Regions from separate parts of the Homo sapiens genome. Here region 1 is linked to region 2. Evidence: promoter capture Hi-C in 16 types of primary human blood cells and fetal thymus (Javierre and others, 2016). All regions are on one chromosome and are shown on one strand. Each heading gives the region's core, a stretch centred on a gene start or on the middle of the fragment in contact. The rest is flanking DNA. Distances are from core to core; before and after follow the strand shown.

What was found. The method cuts DNA at HindIII sites, captures the fragments that hold promoters and counts their contacts. A CHiCAGO score of 5 or more calls a contact.
Region 1: a fragment that was not itself captured here is called in contact with the fragment with the promoter of RFT1 in region 2 in 1 of 17 cell types (naive CD4 T cells); the score reaches 5.2 in naive CD4 T cells.

The regions. Positions count from the first base shown.
Region 1 is chr3:52,850,106-52,855,164 of GRCh38, reverse strand. It overlaps STIMATE-MUSTN1 (STIMATE-MUSTN1 readthrough), which reads left to right. Exons shown (of 10, transcript NM_001198974.3): 3 at 2,467-2,562. It overlaps STIMATE (STIM activating enhancer), which reads left to right. Exons shown (of 8, transcript NM_198563.5): 3 at 2,467-2,562. Among named protein-coding and RNA genes, the nearest start is that of MIR8064, 6.1 kb to the right of the region's middle. The HindIII fragment of the contact is 4,527 bases long and covers 1,182-5,059 here.
Region 2 is chr3:53,128,456-53,132,825 of GRCh38, reverse strand. It overlaps RFT1 (RFT1 glycolipid translocator homolog), which reads left to right and starts at 2,391. Exons shown (of 13, transcript NM_052859.4): 1 at 2,391-2,488. The coding sequence starts at 2,426. RefSeq lists enhancers at 1,986-2,035, 2,046-2,245, 2,286-2,335, 2,346-2,535. The HindIII fragment of the contact is 8,425 bases long and covers 1-4,370 here.

The DNA.
Region 1 (5,059 bases), core at 2,196-4,695, 280 kb after region 2:
TGCTTCCACTTCTAGAAGATGGAAGATACACAAATACATCAGTCCCCGATGCTGGCTCCTTCATCTATGTCTACCTGTTGTTAGATTTGGTTTAAATTCCTGGATTCTGTGTTCTGTATGTGCAAGCAAAAACTAGCCTAAATTTGGAGATCAAACATAGCATATAAACGCTCCTCTCTCCAAACGAGTCTTTCTTGGTCCTAGCATAAAGGAAAACTATTTCTCTACTCAAAATACTTCTGACACCAAATATATGAGGGTTTTCTTCCCCCAGCATCAACCAGCTTTCCAACTCTGCAAATACCACTTGGGTGTCCCATAATTTAATTCACTTCTGACACTTAACTACCTGGAGTTAGAACAGAATCCACAGGTTAAGGGCTCAGTCCCACAAACTGCCCCCTTCTTCATGCCAGTTGCAAGTAGTGGGGTCCTCAGGGTATCCACATTTCTGTCCAACTTTGCTATAAAGTCAGGGGTTCCCACAACCCCCACTTCCCCGCTAAGGTTCAGTAATTTGCTAGAACGGCTCATAAAACTCAGGGAAACATTTACTTACATTTACTGATTTATTATAAAGGACACAGATGAACGCTAGATGAAGAGGTGCATAGGGCGAGGTCCAGAAGTGTCCTGAGCACAGGAGTTGGGGTGTGCCCCCTTCCCAGCACATGGATGTGTTCACCAGCCCGGAAGCGCTCCAAATCCCATTGTTTAGGGATTTTTATGGAGGGTTCATCATGTAGGCATGATTGATTGTTAACTCAGTCTCCAGCCCCTCCCTTCTCCCTGGAGGGTGGGGGATTAGGGCTGAAAGTTCTAAGTTTCTGATCATGACTTGGTCCTTTTGGTGACTAGCCCCATCCTGAAGCTATCTAGGAGCCCACTAAGACTTCCTTCATTAGAGCAAAAGGCTCCTGTCTTCCGGGAAATTCCATGAGGTTTAGGTGCTCGTATCAGGACCAAGGCCAGAGACCAAATACTAGAACAAAAACTCCTCTTAGCACCTGTGTTACTCAGGAGATTACAAGTGTTTTAGGAGCTCTGTGTCAGAAACCAGGACAGAGACCAAATACATATATTTCTTAAATAGACTTTGATATATACATCAAGCATATATTTATTTCACAGATTATGATCCTGCAGTCACAATTTTTCCTTCGTGAAATGGTGGTAAAGCTTCAGAAGTAGGTTCTAAAGACAAAACTCCAAAATAATACATCACTTGGAAGGATACAGTCAGCTCTTCAAGACAGCACTGTGTCCACAAGAAGCTGCCTGTTTTAGGCTGCCTTGGGCTTCTACATTTCCTAACAAAATAGCCATTTTATCCTTCAGAGGAAACGTCAGTAATCACTGTGATAAAATTATTAAGCGTGTACTTGTTCTTAAACGTGTTGCTGGCGAATTTGATAATTCTTTTTATTTTCCCCCCGTTGATTTTTCTCAAACCCTGTTAACTTTAGAATGTGTGACTCCCACCTCAGGGCTGGGGCAGGACCTGGTGGGAGACCTAGCTTTGGGGCTCTCTTGAGTCTTACATACGTTGTCCTTTGGTAACTCCTCCTTTGCAGTGAGTCTAGGGAATGATTTTCCAGCCACCGTCGCTGGGTTGGTCTGGATAATCTCTGCAGTCCTGAGACCCTGCCCAGCTGGGCGGCTGTGAGAGACAGCCATGACCAAGAGGTGCCTCGACCACAGAGGAGAATGGCTACCTGGTGCTGGTGGTGGAGGACATACTGAAGGCACACGCTGTCTCCACCATGCTCCTGTCACATGGGTCGGGGTTAGCTCCTCTCAGAGATTAACACCCTTGTTTTTTCTTTTTTGAAATGCTTACCATCTAGTCCAGGGGCTGGCACACTACAGCCCTCAGGCCCGGTGTGTATGATTGGAATAGCTGTGTCTATGACTGCATCATTCTCTAGCGGCAGGGCTGAGGAATTGAGACAGAGATCATATGGCGCACAAAACCTCAAATATTTATTCTTTGGTCCTTTACAGAAAAAATTTGCCTACCCTGATCTAGCCCATTGTTTAAATGGCAGCAGCTGAAATTTCTTTAGGGATCCAGCTGCAGTACTGGATTTGTGCACGTCTTGTTAATTTCACACATAATTTAGCTCATTGTGAGTGAAGTTGAATGGGAGCTCTTTAAAATAGAGGCACCTTGGGCTTCATCACAAAGCAGCGATTGAGCATTTTATTTTGAAGTAAGAAAAAAATTTAAAACGTATTTTAAATATCAATCCTTGACCTTTTAGGGTTTTCAAAGGCAGTGTTATTGAAGGCTTTGAAAGGTGGCTGAGATGCCAAGCCTGAGTTAGTGCTCAAGGCCCCAGGAAGAGATAACCAGTGATTGGAAGGTTGGGGTGGCTTTCTTCCTGTTTCAGTCTTCTCGTTTTCCTCAAATTGGATATTGCGCTCCTGTCAGGCTAATAACCAGTGCTGGTTTATTTTGTACAGGTTTTTAGACACTTCCAAACAAGCCATAGGAATGCTGTTCATCCACTTTGCAAATGTATACCTAGCAGATCTCACTGAAGAGGACCCTTGTTCACTGTAAGTGTTCCCTATTTGAGTGCAAACATCAGCTGCCCCTCCATTGAAAATATAGGCTGGCCTTGCTTTCTGCTGCTGGTCCTGCTCCCTCTGGCTTGGGGAGAGGGTGCTCCCCTTTTCCTCTGTGCTCCTCTGAGAGACCATCCTGTACATGCTGTCCTGGAGCTCACTTACACAGCTATCAGTTGGCTTGTAGGGCTTTGCGTGTTGACACTTTCCCCATGCACTGGCTTTCTGTTCATCAATCCAAGTTCTGTCCTTTGATTTTCTAGTGTCCTTATGTCTCCCAGTTTCCAAGCCGCCCCTGGCAAGGAAGGATAATGCCCTACAGGAGTGTCTCTGCTCTGGAACCAGGACACACCAGGGCTTCTCTGTGGCGTCAGCCATTCAGGGTCAAAACTGTTGTTGACCCTCATTGACCTCTTCCACCTTATCATTGCAATGTGCCTTCCATGCAGCCCCCAGAGCAATCCATCTGTGACCTCAATCCGGCCATGATATTCTGTCCTCCTTGCTGATGGCACCCACATAGTGCTTCTCTTAGCAGGTGGAGTGGCAGAGGAGGCTTGCCTACCTCATCCTGGCCCCATCTTCTGCCTCCCTTTGTCCTCATAGCAGCCTGCCATATATTAATGGAGACTTTGATCATCCCCATTTTACAGTGGTGGAACTGAGGCACAGAGAGGTTATATATACTGTAAGTTCACACCGCTCAGGAGTCATGGAGCCCAGCCAGTCTGGCTTCCAGGGCCCACATGATGCTTTGCTGTCTGTCAGAATCATCTGTGTTGAGGATGGAACATAGAACTTTCTCTCTTTATTCCCAAGGCATGGCACACAGTAGGCTTGTAAATGTTTGCTAAGTGAATGAATGAAAGTAAGGTCTGTATGTACATCACATGTCCTTGTTCTCGCAGGCGTGAGATGCTTTGGACACAAAGTATCTGAGAGCAGCATAGCCTCAGGCCAGAGGGAAATTGCCTTGGAAGCAGTTGCTGCTCCTGCCATCTCTGGTCTAAGAGTGACCCCTTGTGATTTTACAGAGGAAGGGCAGGCAGGAGAAATGCCCCCTCCCTCTTTTCACTGGTTTTCCTGCTGACCTACCCTAGCACAGGCTGCGCCCTCTGGCATCAGAGTGCTGTGTGCACATCACCAAAGCTCCAGCCCAGGATAGGAGGCTGTGAGACTACACAAAATGTCTCAAGCCTCAGCAACTGGAAAGCTCACCACACCTGGAGTGTGTGGTGTCCTGCAGCTTACCTGCAAGGATTTCAGAGCCACATGGTATCGTAGAGGGTCAGTACTGGACCCAGTGCCCTTGTCTCCCACTCTGTCTACCATGGAGAGCTGGAGCTTGTGGTCAGCAGTGCTCAGCTGGATCTGGGTACAAGGCCCTCAAGAGAGGGTGAGTGGAAAAGGGCCTTTCTTTGGTGAGAGAAAAAATTTTGTGTCGGATGGAAACAGACCGTACAAGAACACAGTTCATGTGGTATGCCCTTCAGAGCCTCCTCCTCTCACTCCCCCAGTTATCTTGCCTTTTCCCATGGGGAGTAAAGCTCGCTCTTTAAAGTGTAGGCCGGGCACGGTGGCTCAGGCCTGTAATCCCAACACTTTGGGAGGCCAGGGTGGGCATATCCCTTGAGGCCGGGAGTTCAAGATCAGCCTGGCCAACATGATGAAACCCTGTCTCTACTAAAAATACAAAAATTAGCTGTGTGTGGTGGTGGGTGCCTGTAATCCCAGCTACTTGGGAGGCTGAGGCAGGAGAATCACTTGAACCCAGGAGGCGGAAGCTGCAGTGAGCTGATTGCACCGCTGCACTCCAGCATGGGCAATAGAGGGAGACTCCATCTCAAAAAAAGAAAAAAACAGTGTAAAAATATTACTTATGCTTGACTGCAGATGGGGATGGGCGAAGGCCATGTTGCCCTGTCCTCTTTGTCTGCGAAACCCGAGAGGCTGTTTTCCTGAACCTCTCTGGTGCAGCAGCACTGTTCTGGGCCTCCTGGGCTGGACTGTCAGGGAGTGAGCAGAATCATTGCCTAGGTGTTTCTGTCATCAGTTAAGTTCTGTTTCCTGTTGATTTCCCTGGCTGCTTCCAGGTACTCTGTCTTCCATTGAACCTTCGCCTGGCAGAAGCACTGGCAGGTTTTTGTTTTGTTTTGTTTTTTTGAGACAGAGTCTTGCTGTGTCACCACGCTGGAGTGCAGTGGTGCAATCTCAGCTCACTGCAACCTCCACCTCCCGGGTTCAAGTGATTCCCCTGCCTCAGCCCCCCGAGTAGCTGGGACTACAGGTGCGCGCCACCACGCCCAGCTAATTTTTTTGTATTTTCAGTAGAGACAGGTTTCACCGTGTTAGCCAGGGTGGTGTCTATCTCCTGACCTCGTGATCCACCCGCCTCGGCCTCCCAAAGTGCTGGGATTAGAGGCGTGAGCCACCGCGCGCAGCCAGCACTGGCAGTTTTAAAGTGTCTTTGTCCCTCACTCACCTCCCT
Region 2 (4,370 bases), core at 1,142-3,641:
GGGTGCCCAACTCACTCATCCTAAAACAGCACCCCTCTCTCTCTTCCAAAGCCTCTAGGATCTTACCTGGTTTCATTCTTTCGTAGCACTTAGCCCTATGTGAAATTTTATTTGTTTGTTAGAGTTTTTTTCAGTTTCCCTTTCACTAGAATTTAAGCTCTCTGAGGGCCAGACTTGCCTGAAACAATCCTTATGACTATTTTTACAGGACAGATAATATCCCTATTTAGTAGCTGAGCATACTGAGGTCACCCAGTCAGTGAGTGGCAGAATGAGGATTCAAGGTCAGTTCTCTCTGACAGACAAAAGCTCACATTCTTGGGCAGGGTGCAGTGCGGTGGCTCATGCCTGTAATCTCGGCACTTTGAGAAGCTGAGGTGGGCGGATCACTTGAGTCCAGGAGTTGGAGACCAGCCTGAGCAACGTGGGAAAAACCCATCTCTACAAAAATCACAGAAAAAATCAGCCAGGTCTGGTGCTGCACGCCTGTAGTCCCAGCTAATCGGAAGGCTGAGGTGGGAGGATTACCTGAGGCCAGGAGGTGGAAGCGGCAGTGAACCAAGACTGTACCACTGCACCCTAGCCTGGGAGACAGAGCGAGACCCTGTCTCAAAAAAAAAAAAGAAAAGAAAAGAAAAGAAAAGAAAAGAAAAAGAAAAGCTCACATTCTGGGCCTCCACACTAAGACAGAGCTCATTTCACCTGGGAAGATGGGAGTGATAGGCTTTGAGTTCCACAGTCTGTTTCCAGCAGCAGTAGCAGCAGTCATGTGTCAGGAGACATTTATAGGAGCCCTAAGAATGTTCTGTACCGCTACTTCAGGAAGCAAAACCAGGCAGGCTGCACTTCTGCCCTCTTGGAGCTCATGGGCTGATTATATAGAGACACATATTCTAGTCTTTCTGCTATAATGCAGATTGCATTAGGAACTATAAAGGGGTACAGAGTATTTTAGGGGTACTGTCTTGATTTGCTTGGGCTGCTGTAACAAAATACCATAGACTGGGTAAGTCAAAAACAGAAATTTCTCTCACAGCTCTGGAGGCTGGAAGCCCAAGATCAAGGTGCTAGCCAGTTTGGTTCCTGTTAAGTGTATGTTGGGCGCCTTACATTTTACAAAGCCTTCTTCGTGGTTGCAGACAGCTACATTCTTGCTGTATCCTCAAATAGTAAACACAGAGATCATTTTTCTGACATCTCTTTTTATAAGGACATGAATCCCATTATGACGGCTCCACTTTCAGGACCTAATTACTTCCCAAAGGCCTTACCTCCTAATACTATCACACTGGGGATTAGGCTTCAACATATGAATTTTGAGGGTACACAAACATTTAGTCCACAGCAGGTACCAGCTGTGGTTGGCCAGGAAAGTCAGGACAGTGTGGTCTAGGAGGGCAAGGGGTGCTGTCAGGGAAGACACTTTGGACAAAGAGGGTGGAGGAGCAAAGGCCAGTGAGTCACCGCCTGTTTGAGGACCAGTAAGGACTCGGAATGGCTATGGCCTAGATAGTGTTGGGAAGGGCAATGATCGTGTGAAAGGTAGTAGAAGATAGGTTGGGGCCAAATCATGTGAGGACTGAAAGAGATTGGGGAAAGACTGGGCTTCCTACAGCCTGCTTGGTAGATAATAAGAACACTGACAGAACAGCAGCTGATTGTGTATGTTGGGCGCTTTACATTTTTTTACAAAGCACTTCCAGTCCTTCTTCCACTCTGCCCTCACAATTTCTAGCATACAGGCAAGAGTGATAAGTTTAGGATCAGGAGCCTGGTATCCACTTAGTCAGGAAACAAGTTGTGTAGATTCGAACAAGTCACTTCCCATCTCCAAGGCTTTACTCATCTCTAACCACAGGGGCCAATTCTCAGAGCTTTCGGAAGGATTTCACAAAACCATACACATAACAGTGCTATATCTAACTTCTGGTCCTCAGTTCTTTCTCTGTTAAATGAGGACAATTCCTGTCCAGCCTAATTCAGAGGGTCTGTGGCTGTGATTCTGTAAGCAAAGGTCAATGGTGAGAATCTTCTTAACGGGCCAGTGAGAAGTTTGTTCCCCTTTTGGCAGATGAGGCCAGGAAAGTTAGTGCTTCTTGGTTGGTGGCTGAAAGCCTCAGAGAAGGAACTTTGGATTCTTTAACGGTATCTCTTAGTACTCGCCACACTATTTCGTTTATACGGGGAAGAGAGGGACAGACAGCGCACAAGCGACAGACAGCGCAAAACCTACCGAAATAGAAAGAGCCAGGCGCCATAACAGACGGCCCGAGACAGGCCCACTTAAAGGACCAGAACTTCTCGTGCCCCGCCCCCCTCTCTCAAGGCCATCAATCAGACAGCGAGGCGCGCCGTGACGCCATCTTATCGCGACTAAACGGAGTGGCGGCGGCATTTCCTGGTGTCTGAGCCTGGCGCGGAGGCTATGGGCAGCCAGGAGGTGCTGGGCCACGCGGCCCGGCTGGCCTCCTCCGGTCTCCTCCTGCAGGTACTCTCTGCCCTTCAGGTTCCAGCTTGTACTGCAGCCGGGATTCGCGGGATGGCAGCCCTTGGGCCCTTGAGAGCCTGCCCCAGGGCCGACCCAGTCCCGAGGTGGACCCCGCAATGGAGGGGGTGGGGGGGTCGACCGGAGACGGTGGCATTGATGAGGGGGGACCCTGGCCCGGAGATAGGAGCCTGCCTTTAGAGTCTAGGCCGGGTGACTGCAGACAAGCCGCTTTCCTTCTGAGCATTCTATTTCCCATATGGCAGTAGGAGTGAATTAGATCAGGTGGCGGGGGTGAGGGACTGGTATTTCGTGCTCGAGAATCTGATATTTTTCAGGCAAGGGGTTCATTTCCTTCATCAAACACCTTCCTCAAACTTTGAGTCCCACTGAGTTCCGAGAGTCCATATGGCATAGCTAAGAAGAGAAATCTGGAGTTAGGCTTGGATTGCTCCGTGACCCAGGACAAGTGACTTCACCTGCAGAGCCTGAGTTCCTCACTAGTAAAATGGGGGTAATAATATGTCGTACTTAGCTCATAAGCAGGGATTGATTGGGATCATTCAAATAAACGTACTTAACACAGTACCCGGCTCTTAGTATGCATTTAATACATGTTGGCTGCATCTTCTGTTTATGTGATCTTGGACAAGTCACTTCCCTTCTTGGCCCTAATTTTTGTCATCTGTCAGGTATGATACAGGCCAGTTAGTCCAAATGGTATCTGAAGATTCTTTCAACCCCAGGAGCTGAACCTCTTAAGTCAAGTGGCTCAGTATCTCTCTGTCTCACTCTTGAGCCAATCAACCCTACTTCACACAAGTCCCGAATCTACCCTACCCCTTATCTTAGAGAGGCACATGGAGGGCAGAAGAAAGAACCAAGCAGAATGGGGCTTGAGTTTGGGCCTTGTCACTTGCTAGATGCCTGCCTTCGGGATAAATCCGATGACTTCTGTATCAGTTTCTTCATCTTAAATGAGAATCATAGTGCAACCTCACAGGGTCATTAGGAAGATTAGATGAAATCATGCCTCTTAAGTGCCTGGCACACTACAAGTACTTAATAAATGTAGCTATTTTTATTAGGGTAATAAGTATTTTTAAAATAGTCAATGTAGGAATGAAATGAGATAACCTATGGAAAGCATGTTGAAGAGTGCCTTGCACGTGATATGTGCTTAGTAAATGTTAGCCATTCTAAGTTTACCTAGGGATTTTTTTTTTCTGTTTCACTACATAAATAACTGAGTTTATTGTTTTATCCACAATGTTGGTTTTTTTTCAGCCTTTGATAATATCTTACTACTCAGATAGGCTTCATAAAACGAAAACAAGTTATAACGGAAAACACACTGGACTACGAGTCAGGTGGCTTACCTGTAAGGTCAAGCTGGGTCATTTACTTGCCGTGTGACAGTGAGGAAATCACTTAACCCTCAGTCTTGCTTCCTGTGCATTTACCTCGTTGTTTTTAGTGTCAAATAATTTAACAGATGTGAGAGAGCCTTTTTGTTAAAACTGTAAAGTTGGCTGGACGCGGTGGCTCATGCCTGTCATCCCAGCACTTTGGGAGGCCAAGGCAGGAGGATTGCTTGAGCTCAGGAGTTGAAGACCAGCCTGGGCAACATGGTGAAACCTTGTCTTTACAAAAAATACAAAAATTAGATGGGCGTGGTGGCATGCACCTGTAGTCCCAGCTACTCAGGAGGCTGAGGTGGGATGATCTCGAGTCTGTGAGGTTGAGGCCTCAGTGAGCTGTGATTATGCCACTGCACTCCAGCCTGAGCAACAGAGTGAGACCCTGTCTTAAAACAAAAGCTGTAAAGTTCTTTGCAGAAGTAAATGAAGGCTGTGTTGCTAATAAGGACTGCAGTGTGTGGCAA